Linked DNA regions of Homo sapiens: regions 1, 2, 4 and 5 are each linked to region 3. Evidence: promoter capture Hi-C in 16 types of primary human blood cells and fetal thymus (Javierre and others, 2016). All regions are on one chromosome and are shown on one strand. Each heading gives the region's core, a stretch centred on a gene start or on the middle of the fragment in contact. The rest is flanking DNA. Distances are from core to core; before and after follow the strand shown.

What was found. The method cuts DNA at HindIII sites, captures the fragments that hold promoters and counts their contacts. A CHiCAGO score of 5 or more calls a contact.
Region 1: a contact is called between a fragment that was not itself captured here and the fragment with the promoter of NUBPL in region 3, in 4 of 17 cell types (M2 macrophages, M1 macrophages, endothelial precursors and 1 more). The highest score is 6.2, in M2 macrophages.
Region 2: a fragment that was not itself captured here is called in contact with the fragment with the promoter of NUBPL in region 3 in 2 of 17 cell types (M1 macrophages and M2 macrophages); the score reaches 5.7 in M1 macrophages.
Region 4: a fragment that was not itself captured here is called in contact with the fragment with the promoter of NUBPL in region 3 in 2 of 17 cell types (endothelial precursors and M2 macrophages); the score reaches 6.1 in endothelial precursors.
Region 5: a fragment that was not itself captured here is called in contact with the fragment with the promoter of NUBPL in region 3 in 2 of 17 cell types (total B cells and total CD8 T cells); the score reaches 5.6 in total B cells.

The regions. Positions count from the first base shown.
Region 1 is chr14:31,892,402-31,895,101 of GRCh38, forward strand. No RefSeq gene overlaps it. Among named protein-coding and RNA genes, the nearest start is that of LINC02313, 51 kb to the right of the region's middle. The HindIII fragment of the contact is 1,367 bases long and covers 659-2,025 here.
Region 2 is chr14:31,908,612-31,911,311 of GRCh38, forward strand. No RefSeq gene overlaps it. Among named protein-coding and RNA genes, the nearest start is that of LINC02313, 35 kb to the right of the region's middle. The HindIII fragment of the contact is 243 bases long and covers 1,157-1,399 here.
Region 3 is chr14:31,559,954-31,562,653 of GRCh38, forward strand. NUBPL (NUBP iron-sulfur cluster assembly factor, mitochondrial) reads left to right here and starts at 1,451. Exons shown (of 11, transcript NM_025152.3): 1 at 1,451-1,594; 2 at 2,115-2,262. The coding sequence starts at 1,487. It overlaps NUBPL-DT (NUBPL divergent transcript), which reads right to left and starts at 1,378. Exons shown (of 3, transcript XR_943720.2): 1 at 1,158-1,378. RefSeq lists enhancers at 1,294-1,693, 1,620-2,175. The HindIII fragment of the contact is 6,263 bases long and covers 664-2,700 here.
Region 4 is chr14:31,924,612-31,927,311 of GRCh38, forward strand. No RefSeq gene overlaps it. Among named protein-coding and RNA genes, the nearest start is that of LINC02313, 19 kb to the right of the region's middle. The HindIII fragment of the contact is 1,164 bases long and covers 723-1,886 here.
Region 5 is chr14:32,055,426-32,058,125 of GRCh38, forward strand. It overlaps LOC105370440 (a long non-coding RNA gene), which reads left to right. Exons shown (of 4, transcript XR_943727.2): 4 at 1,498-1,955. Among named protein-coding and RNA genes, the nearest start is that of ARHGAP5-AS1, 20 kb to the right of the region's middle. The HindIII fragment of the contact is 348 bases long and covers 1,213-1,560 here.

The sequences.
Region 1 (2,700 bases), core at 92-2,591, 330 kb after region 3:
TTATTGGAGAGGGCAGCACCTCCCAGTTTCAACTGCTCTTCTCACATTGGTCCTCTGTTTTCCAGTGAATACCTGTTGTGGTTTTTCTGTTCTCAGGTTCATAAGTCACAGTCCCCATTGCTTTCCTCTTTTTCCTCCTGCACTGATAGGCCCCATGCAGGTTTAGGGATTTCTGGTAGTTTGTTTCTACTCACTTATATTTGGGGGCTCAGAGGGATACCCCTTCATCTCATTTTGTTATAAGTGTTGTCCATGGGTTTTGGGTTTTGCTATCTTGTTTTCCTATTTTTATGTGGGGACTTGGAGAGATTGAAAGACTATGCTTGCCACTACTGCTGTCTTCCCAGAATCTTCCCCTCATAGGGAGCTCTTGATAAATCTGCCCCCCACCACCCTGCTCCACCAGTTTCCTTCTCACTTAGAACAGGAAGAACTATTTTGGATTCCATGGCGGAGACCTTGAAAAGTGTTTCTGATGGGGAACTCTCTGCTCCTTTTTTTCCCTCCCTTTATTCTGCCAGGTAGATTTGAGGACGGAGGGGTTAGCGGTGTGACAGGATGGTGTGTCCATTTCCTGTCTTGTTCTACATAGGACTAAACCAAAAGAGGAGTGAGAGTGGAATGGTTCAGAGATAAAAGCTGTCTCTGCCTCACCTAAAGCTTGAGTTACTTATTGTTAAGTGAGAAGAAATATTTAAGATACAGGTTTTTTTGAGGCTTACATTACACTTCCAGGAGGAGGCAGGTGCCACAAGGGGAAACCAGCACTGTGACCTGAGAAACATTTTTAATGCTATGTTCACATGGGGAAAATTGGAGAGGTCTGGGATTTAACCCTGTCATAAAGATTAGTCATGTGCATATAAAAACACAGCAGCCCTCACAAGGTGGGGTTTCCTCCTCACTCTTGCCTCTGGAGGAAGCCTGCCATATGACTGAAGTCAGCACTCCTTCCTTCCTGGCTAGCAGGCCCTGTGTCCTCCCCAGGTCAGGGACAGACTGTCAAATCACCAGACTCTGCGATTTTTCTGTGCAGGTGCCAGGCATCCTCAGAAATCTGAGTGCTGTCCTGCTTGCAGCTCTCACTGGCAGCCAGGGCTGCATTTGAGTTGGGAGCAGGCGAGAAGGCCCCCTTTGATTGGCATTTCCTTTATTAGCTGGGAGCCTACAAACAATCAACCCTTCCAGCATGCCAGCATTCAGTGTTTGGCCCGTGAGTGTGTCTTGGTGACCTTTATTTGCATTGGCCTGCAGATAATAGTTTCCTCAGTGAGGAGGAGGCGGGAGGAGGTAAACAGCATACATGAAGCCTAAGTATTAACTGTGAGGACTTAAGTATAGGATGTGCGGCTAGGTCTGGCAACCTCAGTTCCGCTGCCCTTTGTGAAGGGGACAGGGACTATATCATTAGCCACCCTGGCCAAGCACCACTGCAGGGGCACTTACAGGTTCAAAGATTTTAGACAGTAAATAGCCAGTGACCTTCAGAGGTCCCTAAACCAGGAGGCCACACCTGATAACTATGGAAGGAACCAAAGTCAGCAATCTAGGAGAGGTTGCCAACCGGTGGCCTGCAGACGAGTTTCATTCAACTTCAGAAAGTTTGAAAAAAAATGTAATTAGTTGTCAACATATCTCCTGCTAAATATCAGGAGACTTCGTGCTTAAAAACAAACAAACAAAACAAAAAAACACCAATTTCTGACTTCTCTTGAGAAACGAGAGGACTGTAAACCATTGGCTGGAGCTGAGTGGCAGCTGCCCCCTAATTCAGGGAACTCTGTTCTTCTCCTTGCCATAGTCCTCCCTCTCCTCTACCATTAGTTTTACTCTTTTTCCTGGATTATTCCCATCAGCATACAAACCTACTGTTAGTTCTCCTTTCTTAAAAAAGTCGACCTTTCCTTGACTTTACTTCCCCTAACAGCTGCTCCCCACTTTCTTTCTCTTCTTTGCAGCAAAAACTATTTAAAAGAGTTGTTCACACTCAGTGTCTGTTTCTCTCTCCCATTCTCTTTGCAGTCAAGCTTTGACGCCCATGGCTCCACCCAGTGCCGTGTGATGTATGTCACAGTGTGATAATCTTTGTGATCAGCCTTGTGGCTTTAAAAAGCCTGTGAGTCCCAAATGCATCTCCAGCTCAGGCCTTCCTCTGGAACTGCAGTCATAGATCCAGCTGCCTACCTGATGCCTCTTCTTGGTGACTAATTGAACTCATATATCTGGCACATCCAGACTGAACTCTTGGCCCTCCCACTTTTACCAGCCAGCTTCCATGTACCTCTCAGTATCCACTCTCCACCTTCCCCAACCTCCCTCACTTTCGGCCCTGGGAGAATGACTTGTATGTGCCCTTCTACTCTCTGGCTTCTGGTTGTCAGATCTGAAGAGAGAGGAGAGCAAGGTCAGAGTGTTTGATTCCTCAGCGTAGTCCAGGGCTGACTGCATCCCTCTATCAAAGGCAAGTCAACACAGCCATCTCCTCAGGATCCTTTCCTTTCTGAGCAGTTAGGCCTAGGGCTGGTCACTGCCTGCTGTTTACCAGCCTTGGGGTATCGTGCTCTCACTTGTGGTTTCGCTACCCCCTGCCCAAACCTTTGTAAATAGCCTCTTCATGAAACCCTCCATGAATTAACCTAATTTGAGTGTGCCATCTGTTTCCTGCTAGGACCTTGATTGTACCCCATATTGTCACCCTTT
Region 2 (2,700 bases), core at 28-2,527, 350 kb after region 3:
ATATTTTCATTGACTTTGTCAAAGATCAGTTGGTTGTAGGTGTGTAGCTTCATTGCTGGATTCTCTATATTTTGTTCCATTGGTCTATGTGTCTGTTTTTGTGCCAATACCATGATGTGGCCGTTTTGGTTACTGTAACCTTATAGTATAGCTTGAAGTCAGGTAATGTGAGGCTTCCAGCTTTGTTCTTTTTGCTTAGGATTGTTTGGGCTGTTTTTGGCTCTTTTTTGGTTCTGTATGAATTTTAGAATAGTTTTTTTTAATTCTGTGAAAAATGACATTGGTGTTTTGATAGGAATAGCATTAAATCTGTAGATTGCTTTGGGCAGAATGGTATTGTGGCCTAAGCTTTTTGTGTAATACCCAAAAAGCCATTGCCCCATTTTGTCCTTTGGCACCATTAGTTGACCATATATGTTTTGATTTATTTCTGGGTTCTCCATTCTGTTCCACTGGTTTGTGTGTCTGTTTTTATGCCAGAGCCACACTGTTTCAGCTTTGTAGTATAATTTTAAATCAGGAAGTGTAATGTCTTTAACTTTGTTTTCCTTTCTCAGAATTGTTTTGGCTATTTAGTCTTTTATGTTTTCATGCAAATTTTAGGACTTTTTTCTATTTCTGTGAAGAATGTCACTGGGATTTTGATAGGGATTGTATTGAATCTGTATATTGCCTGGGTAGTATGGACATTTTAACAATATTAATTATTTTAATCCATAAGCACAGGATATCTTCCCATTTATTTATTTGTCTTCTTCAACAATTTCCTTCATCCATGTTTTATAATTTCCAGTGTACATATCTTTCACTTCCTTGGTTAAATTTGCCCTAGGTATTTTATTTTGTTTGTTGCTTTGGTAAATGGAATTTCTTTATTTATTTTTCAGTTAAGAATTAAAAAATTCTTATATATGTTATTCATGTATAAAAATGCTACTGATTTTTGTATGTTGATTTTGTGTCCTGTAAGTTTACTGAATTCGTAGTCATTTTTACTTTTTCCTTTCTGATTTGGATGCCCAGTCTTTTTTCTTTCTTTTCTTGGTCTGATATGCTTTATCAGATATAAAAATAATTATCCCTGCTCTCTTTTGGTTACCATTTGCATAGAATATCTTCTTGTATCCCTTCTCTTTCAGCCTGTGTGTGTCATTAAAGCTTAAGTGAGTCTCTTATTTTTTAGGCAGTATATAGTTGGATCTTATTTTTTTAATCCATTCAGACACTCATGTATTTTGATTGGATAATTTAATCAATTTACCTTCAAGGTTATTATTGATGGGTAAGAACTTACTACTGACATTTTCTTATTTGTTTTCTGGTTGTTTTATAGCTGCTCAGTTCCTTTCTTCCTCTCTTGTTGTCTACCTTTGTGAATTGATAATTTTCTGTAGTACTAAGCTTTGATATCTTTCTTTTTATTGTTTATCTCCTGTAGTTTTTTTGTTGTTTGTTTTTTGGTTACTATGAGGCTTACAGAAAACATCTTATAATCTACCACTTTAAACTGATAATTTCTGTCACATACGAAAAACTCTAAACTTTTAGTCTCCATCATCATTTATGTTTTTGATGTGTCAACAAAAAGAATCAGACTCTGTAAAGTATTTGAAGAGATTTATTCTAAGCCGAATATGCGTGACCAGTGGCTCATGACACAGCCCTCAGGAGATCCTGAAAACATGTGCCCAAGGTGGCTGGGCTCCACCTTGGTTTATGCATTTTAGGGAGACATAAGACATCAATCAATATGTATAAGATGTACATTGGTTTGATCTGGAAAGGCAGGACAACTCTAAGCAGGGGGCTTCCAGGTCATAGGTGGATTCAAAGATTTTCTGATTGGCAATTGGTTGAAAAAGTTATTATCTAAAGACCTGGAATCAATAGAAAGGAATGTCTAGATTAAGAGAAGGGGTTGTGGAGACCAAGGTTTTATCATGCAAGTGAAACCTCCTGGTAGCAGGCTTCAGAGCTCTTATCAGACCTAAAAAAGGTGCCAGACTCAGTTAATTCTCTCCTGGATCAGGGAAAAGACATGGAAAGAAATGAGGATTGTCTACATAAAGTATATTTTCCTCACAAGAGACAGGCTTGCAAGACCATTTCAAAATATATCAAAGAAATATAATTTGGGGCAAAATACTTTGATTTCTTTTAGGGTCTGCTATCTGTCATGTGATGCTATACTAGAGTCAGGCTGGAATTTGATGTCTTATTGCTATGAATAGTCTGCTTTGTCAGTCTTAACATCTGTTTTAATGTTAATGCTAGTCAGCTGTGCCTGAATTCCAAAAGGGAGAAGGGAATAATAAGGCATGGCCCACTCTGCTTCCTATCATGGCCTGAACTAGTTTTTCAGGTTAACTTTGGAATGCCTTTGGCCAAGAGGAGGGTCCATCAGTTGGTTGGGGGCTTTCAATTTTATTTTTAGTTTACAAATGTCACAACTTACATCTTTTATATTGTGTATCCCTTAATGACTATCCTGGTCATTTTTTATGTTTCAACTTTTAACCTCCATACTAGAGGTATGTATGATTTAAACACTACCATTACAGCATTTGAGTATTCTGAATATGACTATGTGTTTACCTCTACTAGTGAGTTATATACTTTCATGTGTATTCATGATAGTAATTATCATCCTTTTAGTTCTGCTTAAAGAACTCTCTCGAGCATTTCTTGTAAGGCAGGTAT
Region 3 (2,700 bases), core at 201-2,700:
ATCTCTCTTTCCTTTCCCCACATTTCCCCCTTTTCTATTCGACAAAACCGCCATCGTCATCATGGCCCGTTCTCAATGAGCTGTTGGGTACACCTCCTAGACAGGGTGGCGGCTGGGCAGAGGGGCCCCTCACTTCCCAGACGGGGTGGCCGGGCAGAGGTGACTCCACCTCCCGGACGGGGTGGCGGCCGGGCGGGGTCTGCCCCCCACCTCCCTCCGGGACGGGGCGGCTGACCGGATGGGGGCTGCCCCCCACGTCCCTCCCGGACGGGGCAGCTGGCCGGGCGGGGGCTTTTCTCTCTTCTTTCATCTTTCTTCCTTCTACTCTCTTCTTCTTTCTTCTTCCTTCTTCTTTCTTCTCCTTTTAATTTCCTCTTCCTCCTTCCTCCTTCCTTCTTTCTTCTTCTTCTGACAAGGTGTCACTCTGCTGCCCACGCTGGAGTGCAGTGGTGCAATCATAGCTCACTGCATCCTTGAACTCCTGGCTCAAGCAATCCTCTTGCTTTGGCCTCCCAAAGTGTTGGAATTACACGCGTGAGCCACCATGCCTAGCCTTAGCAGTCCATTTCTAACCTCTTTACAACAATCTCCTTGCCATTCTCCCAGCTAACTTCTACACATTATTCAGATTCAGCATTCAGCTTAGATATTACCTAATTTAGAAGCTTCCCCTGATTGAATTGAGTGCCCTTTCTTTGTATCACTTTGTCCTTTCTCCTGTATCCCTCAATGCTTTTCTCCTGTACTTATCATATTATACCGCAATTTTGTTGTTAACTTATTCTGTCTTTTGCACTGGATTATAAAGCCCTTTAGTGGAGGAATTATGTCGGTCTCAATGCTGAATATTTTAAGTCTACTGTAGTACTCGGTACATAGTAGTTGCTCAACGAATATTTGTTAAATAAATGAGTCTTAAGTCTGGAAGAACTTGCAAAGTTCTTTACCAGGTTGCTGGTAAAGCAACCTGACCTTTCTTTCAGGGAACTGTCAGCAACACAAGCCATGAATACCAACGCAAAACAGACTCTCACTGTAGATCACACGGGAAAAAATAAAATAAAAAGGTAAAATCCTTAACGGTGGTAGTATTTAAATGACCATATACTGCTTAGTAAGAAATCCTGGGGTCATTTTCAAGGTCCCCCATTTCCTACTTTTGTTAAGCTGGGTCAAGTCTCTTTAAACTTTCTCCGTTTTCTTGTCCATAAAAAGAGTATACTAGGTAAGTCTTCTGTCTACCTCGGGACTTCTGTAAGTATCATAAGAGATGTTTTATATGACAACACTTCACAAACGTTTAGTAAAACGCTGCAAAATGTTTGTAGCTGGCTATAAACAAGATCATGCAGATTGGGTTCCTGAGCCAACAAACCCAAAGAAGACCGGTTGCTAGGAAGAGAAAGCCGAGCGTTGCTCCGTGACGTCATCACTCCGCGCCACCCGCGACAGTTTCCCAGCAGGGCTCACAGCAGCGTTCCGCGTCATGGGGATTTGGCAGCGTCTGCTGCTTTTTGGTGGGGTGTCGCTCCGGGCTGGTGGCGGGGCCACTGCCCCGCTTGGGGGAAGCCGAGCGATGGTTTGTGGGCGCCAGGTCCGTGGTGCTGCAGGGCAGGGGGAAGCGGGCTGACAGATGCTGGGCTGCAGGGCCGCAGATGCCCTGGCATTGCTTCTTGCCAAAGACTCGCCTCAGTTCCTGAGACCCCCAGTGTGCTGGACGTGCCTACTTTTCAGGCAGGCCCAGGCTGAGGCGTGGCGGGACTTGAAACACAGTTAGAACGTAGATGTGGTATTCTACATTGCTTTCTTGGCTTTGGGTTATTTATCAAATAGATTGAAGAAAAGCAAAACACGTGGAAGCCTTATCTCCGTAAAGAGGCAGCGTTTTTACATTTTTAAACGTTCAGCGTATCCTGCTAGAAAAATTTCAATTTAAGCAATGTGTCTTTACAATTGTTATCAGTAGTAGTAGGTAAATGTCTCCATAGTGAAGATGAGCAGAATTAGAAAAGAAAGCCCTCTTAATTGCAAACCCCAGATTGTTTTTGCTTTTACAGTGTGATGATGGAGATGGCTTATTTAAAACGGCTTTTTATTATTATTATTTTTTAAAGTTGTCTGGCGCCGGGAGTGAGACCCTAAAACAAAGAAGAACACAAATCATGTCCCGAGGACTTCCAAAGCAGAAACCGATAGAAGGTGTTAAACAAGTTATAGTTGTGGCTTCTGGAAAGGGTGGAGTCGGAAAATCTACTACAGCAGGTATTATAGGATATTAATTCTATTCCTGATTAAGAACTTATGCCAACAGACAAGTGCACACTATTGAAATTATAGTTTTGTGTTTTAAAAATTTATTTGTGAAGTTCCTAACATGTGATTCCTTAGTTTCAGGAGTTGGTAGCGGGTAGACGCTTAGATTTTGGAGTTAGACAAAAGTAGGTACTAGCCGGGTCTCCCACCCCTTAACTCAGGAAAAAGTGGTCAGATTGTACAGCAAATCTTCAGTTCACTTAACTGTAAAATGGAGATAACTTCTTTCATAAGATGGTTATTCAAATTGCACAAGCTAACCACTTAGCTTAGTGTTTACTAGTGTTCAATAATTGGTTGCTGTTATTTTTAAAACATCTAGTAACTTTTTTTTTTTGTTTTTTTTTTTTTTTTTGAGACGGAATCTCGCTCTGTCACCCAGGCTGT
Region 4 (2,700 bases), core at 55-2,554, 360 kb after region 3:
AGGTACTAAAACATGATAGAATATGATGTCTACCTTGGCCTCAAGAAGCCTGTGGTCTGATAGGAGAGCACATTTAGACTTAGAAGTACCAGGAGTACAGAGTAGGGAGTGTTTAGCTGTTAGAAGGAAAATAAAAACAGGGAAGACACCGCTTTTTAGAAGAGGTGACACCTGAGCTGGGCTTTGACAGATAAATTCTTAGCAGAGGAAACAACCTAGGCAAAGGTATGGAGTATGAAAAACAGCATGGTCGGTTCAGAGAAGGCATGGTTGAGGCAGATGGGTCTGGAGAGGAGCAGAGATTGTCATGGAGAGCCTGGTGCTAGGAGTTTGGACTTTATCCATTATGGAATGGGGAGGTCATTGTAAGGTCTTAAACCAGGCAGGGACATGGTCAGTTGGACATGAACCATCAGCCTTATGTGCAGGAGATTAACTAAATATTCCTATTCCAAACATTTGTGTTGGACCTTAGCATACACTAAATAGCTTTCCAATGTGCTTTAATTTAAATAACAGTGAAATTAATTATATGTCAGTCAACAGACAGAAACCACATCAATTATTTTAACAGAGAGAATTTAATATAAAGAATTGTTAACTAGGTGTGGAGGAACTGAAAAGACAAAGAGTACATTACAGTATTCATGGTGGTAGTAACTGAAGGACAGCCCTAGAACTAGAGGGACATGGGAAGAGGTCAGAATTATTAAAACTTAAAAAGCTTTGGGGGATGGGGAGGATGGTGGTGGGGGTTGTACACTATGAAGTTTGTGAATATTAGAGAAACTGCAAACTAGAATCAACTGTTGCTACCAAATGAACTGCCTCTGCCAGGGTAAAGAAGTAGACTGCAGAGGCAGTGACAAGTAGGAAGCAACCAGAAAGCAAACAGAAAAAGGCAGGTTCCTTCTTCCTTTTCCAGCCTTACTGTCTCTGTCTAGCACTCCTTGACAGAGCCTACTCTGGAGCCAGCAGGCAAGAGAGTCCCAGCCCAGAGCCACAAGTCAGAGCATAGAAGTTTAGAGCTGAGAGATTATAGTTTCGTAACTAGCACGATTGCCATTCCCAGAGTGGATATCAGTGGATTACAAAAAACAGGACAGGCATCCTAGGAACTAAAGATTTCCTAAAACATTAACAGGTGTTCAATCACATTTTAGACTTATATTCATCATTATCTATGGATGCTACAACTGTCTTTGTGACCTCTGATTCTCATTTTCTTTAATGCGTGAAGACTTACTGCATAGGACTTATTCACATCTCACCACGCAAGACTGTTGGCTTGTAGACGATGGAATTTTAGGTGTAAGAAATGAATGGGCCTAGCACGTCAAAAAGTGAGCAGTGTCATCTTGGGCCTACAACATTGCACCTCTCTTCTCAGTCATCTTGGATTATCTGAGGCATATATGTCATTGATAGAAAAATCTTTACCTCCTTTAGTTCTTCTACTCCATTAATGTCCCTGCAAGTACTCTGCTTAAAGCCTAGCTTTTTGTAGGCCTTTGTACTTGTTTGTAGAATTAAACCCAGGTGTCTTGGAGTCATGTGGATTAAACATTTGGTTATGTGCTGCTTGTGTTTTTCTCCAGATGATTTCTATACCTAAGTCTTGTCATACCCACTAGGTGGCAGTCTTCTTGACCGCAGGTCTGTGTGGTGGGAAAGCACAGATTTAGAATCAACAGCACAAAGTTCAAATCCCAGTTCTGACACTTACTAAATTAGTGTTACTTAACTAAAGTTAGCAAGTGACATAATCTAAGTCTTAGTCCCTCATCTGCAAAATGGTGGACAGTATCTGTTTTCATTAGGTTGTGCTGGTGAAGTGAAATGATATCATAACATAGAACCTGGTACTTAATAGGTGTTAAATGACAAGCTTACCTTTTCCTTTCTTTATTTTCTATCTCTGTAACATATCTTTTCATACCAGGAATGTGTAATATTGGCAACCTGACTTACCAAATAGAGTAGCTGTGGAATCCTTTTAGGAGAGAAACTGAAATATCTTTATACAATGTCCCTTCTCCCCAGGCACCTAGAACATTGGGTACACCAATAACACTTTAAAATATATATATAATGATTGGAACTATTTCTAAAGAGGAAGGTCATCTTCAGTGTATGTAGACATGAGCTGCCGGATATTCTGTCAGAACAATAGCTATTCATTGTGTTAGTTTCAAAGCTGGCTCCGACAAGCTAGTATTTCAGTGTTATTCCCACACAAACAAATCTTGAGCAAAATTTCCATGACCCAATAGATTGGTGTAAACAACTCGCTGCAAGAACTTTTTACATGTAAACCCATGTCATTCATTCAAATGTTCAGTGCTTTCAGGGAGTTTTGTAAGTGCAGCCTAAGAATTAATGATTTTTAAAAAAGCAAAAACAAAAAACAAATGCTCATCAACCCCTACCCTCAGGATTGTGTTTTGTTGCAGAGTATATGCGGTAAATAGCTCAGTTCCTCCCACCATAGCTGTAGATGGGAGACACAGCCATCAGATAACATAGTCTGATGGGAAAGTCCTTTAAAGGCACTGAAACATTAACAGGCTGGCCGAGGCGTGCAGGCTGCCAGAGGTCCTGACTCCTGGGCCAAAGAATAATGACAGGCTTTCTATTTTTAAATAATAGTTAGCATTTGATAGCACTTAATATTTGCAGTGACCTTTACAGCTATTGTTA
Region 5 (2,700 bases), core at 137-2,636, 500 kb after region 3:
CAAATCAGAGATGTTATGCTTTTGGGTTACCTAATTCAATGTTTGAAAGTACCTTATCTGATAGCAAGAAAAGAACAAGAAGCTGCTACCAAGATAGTTTTCAACCTTTTCCAATAGACTTCTAGTACGCCTGCTCTAATGTATGCTATGGACCCTAACTTTCTTTATTTTAGGCTTTTTGTTACTGTTGTACTGTTTTGTTTTGTTATTATTATTATTTTTTTTAATAGAGACAGTGTCTCACAATGTTGTCCAGGCTGGTGTTGAACTCTTGGCCTCAAGCAATCCTCCCACCTTGGCCTCCCAAAGTGCTGGGGCCAGTTTGGTTTTTTTTTTTTTTTTTAACAGATTTTAAAGCAGAGCTCTGGTCTATACCCTGATGTGTCACTGAGTCTAAACTAGACTCTATTCATTCATTTCCATTTATCAGTTGGCTATTGATTTTTTTTTTTTTTTTTGAGACGGAGTCTTGCTCTGTCACCCAGGCTGGAGTGCAGTGGCACGATCTCAACTCACTGCAAACTCTGCCTCCCAAGTTGAAGCAATTCTCCTGCTTTAGCCTCCTGAGTAGCTGGGACTATAGGTGACAGGCGCCTGCCATCACACCCAGCTAATTTTTGTATTTTTATTAGAGACGGGGTTTCACCATGTTGGCCAGGCTGGTCTTGAATTCCTGACCTCAGGTGATCCAACTGCCTTGGCCTCCCAAAGTGCTGGGATTACAGGCGTGAGCCACCGCGCCCAGCCTGATTTTTTTTTGAGACAGGGTCTCACTCTGTCACCCAAGCTGGAGTGCAGTGGCACAATCACACCTCACTGTAGCCTCTACCTCCCAGGCTCAAGTACCTCTCTGTCTCAGTCTCCAGAGTAGCTGGGACTACAGACACAAGCCACCATATCCACTAATGTTGTTCTTTTCTCTTGATTAATAATTGATGCATACTGGTTTGGTATGTTTTGTTTTTTCTTCCTTTCTTTCTTTCTTTCTTTCTTTCTTTCTTTCTTTCTTTCTTTCTTTCTTTCTTTTCTTTCTTTCTTTCTTTCTTTTCTTTCTTTCTTTCTTTCTTTCTTTCTTTCTTTCTTTCTTTCTTTCTTTCTTTCTTTCTTTTTTTTGAGATAGGGTCTTGCTATGTTGCTGAGGCTGGAATGCAGTGGTGTAATCATGACTCCCAGACTTGGTTGGTTTTGTTTTATGTTTTTTAATTTTAAACAAGCTTTAATCATAAAAATTTAAACAGCATAAAAGCCTAAGTTACAAATTCTTCTTTGCCATCTCCTTACCCCTTTTCCTTGCACTCTATCCACTTTCCTCTGCAAGTGTGCATCTATCCAAACCTTTTCCCATATATTAAATTTATAGATATATGTACATATACATATACTTACTCATATAAATGGTTAAAGGACATACCAATTTTTTGAGTGCCACTTTGAACTGTCTATTGCAACACTTAATAATAATAGCCCTTTGTTTTGTTATTCTTCCCTGTTTAATAGGAGGTTGGAACTCTACCCTGGTTTGACTGATCCCTCAAATACATTCAGATGTCATCATAAAGAAGCTTTAGCTTCATAAAGAAGGAAGACAAAGGAAAAATTGTGCCACTTCTGTTAATTTAATCAGAAAGTTTTAATGATGTCTTATTACTTGGGTTTTTATCATAATGATTTGTTTTAATGCTGAGTTCAGTTTCAGTTTTATATTTGTTCTATCTTGTGCAACGTCCAAGGATAATTTAACTATTCAAATGAAGTAGTCCCTTAAAAAATTATCCCATGGCATGGATTTGAAGAGGCAGGCAAAAATGGAATAAAGTACTTTTCAGTAGATTAGACAATTGCAATCCAGTTCTATTGAAGCCCCACGACAGGATTGCTGCTAAATTTGATGTATATTTTCTGTTTTTTTGTTTGTTTGGTTGGCTGGTTGGTTTTTGTTTTTGAGACAGAGTCTTGCTTTGTTGCCCAGGCTGGAGTACGATGGCACAATCTCAGCTCACTGCAACCTCCACCTCCCAGGTTCAAGTGATCCTCCTGCCTCAGCCTCCTGAGTAACTGGTATTACCAGCTCATGTCATCATGCCAGGCTAGTCTTTTGTATTTTATTAGAGACGAGCTGGTCTCGAACTCCCAAGATTAGGCAATCCACCTGCCTTGGCCTCCCGAAGTGCTGGGATTACAGGTGTGAGCCACCTTGCCCATCTTGGGGTTTAAAAAAAAATGCTTCCATGATTTCACTTCTAATGGATAAAGAGAGACATCTAAGAAGTCTGACGTTTAAAGTGTTGAAAAAATGAGACATTCAGGCTACAACTGTAGTGGTCATGTTTTGAATTGTGTTTTTAAATGGGCATGGAGTTTTCTAAGAATGGGGATATATTGCAACCTCTCACATGGAAAGTTATAAATAATGTTCAAAGGGGATTGAGGAACCAGGGCCATAGAGTTTTGGAAAAATATTGGAAGATGACTTAACTGTCGGCCATTTGACCATGCTTCCTGGACTTCCTCCTGTATTATCCCTGCACCCTCTCCTACCTAACCTGTCTGCTATAGTCACAAATGCAAGTTAATCTTCTTTATCACTTTTATTGTTAGGCCTGTTCTACAGCTTCAAAAATCAGAAAATTTTAAAGTGGAAAACGGGTCTTTGGAGACTACCGACTCCTTTCCCTGGCCTGAAGCAATAAAACTATGAGC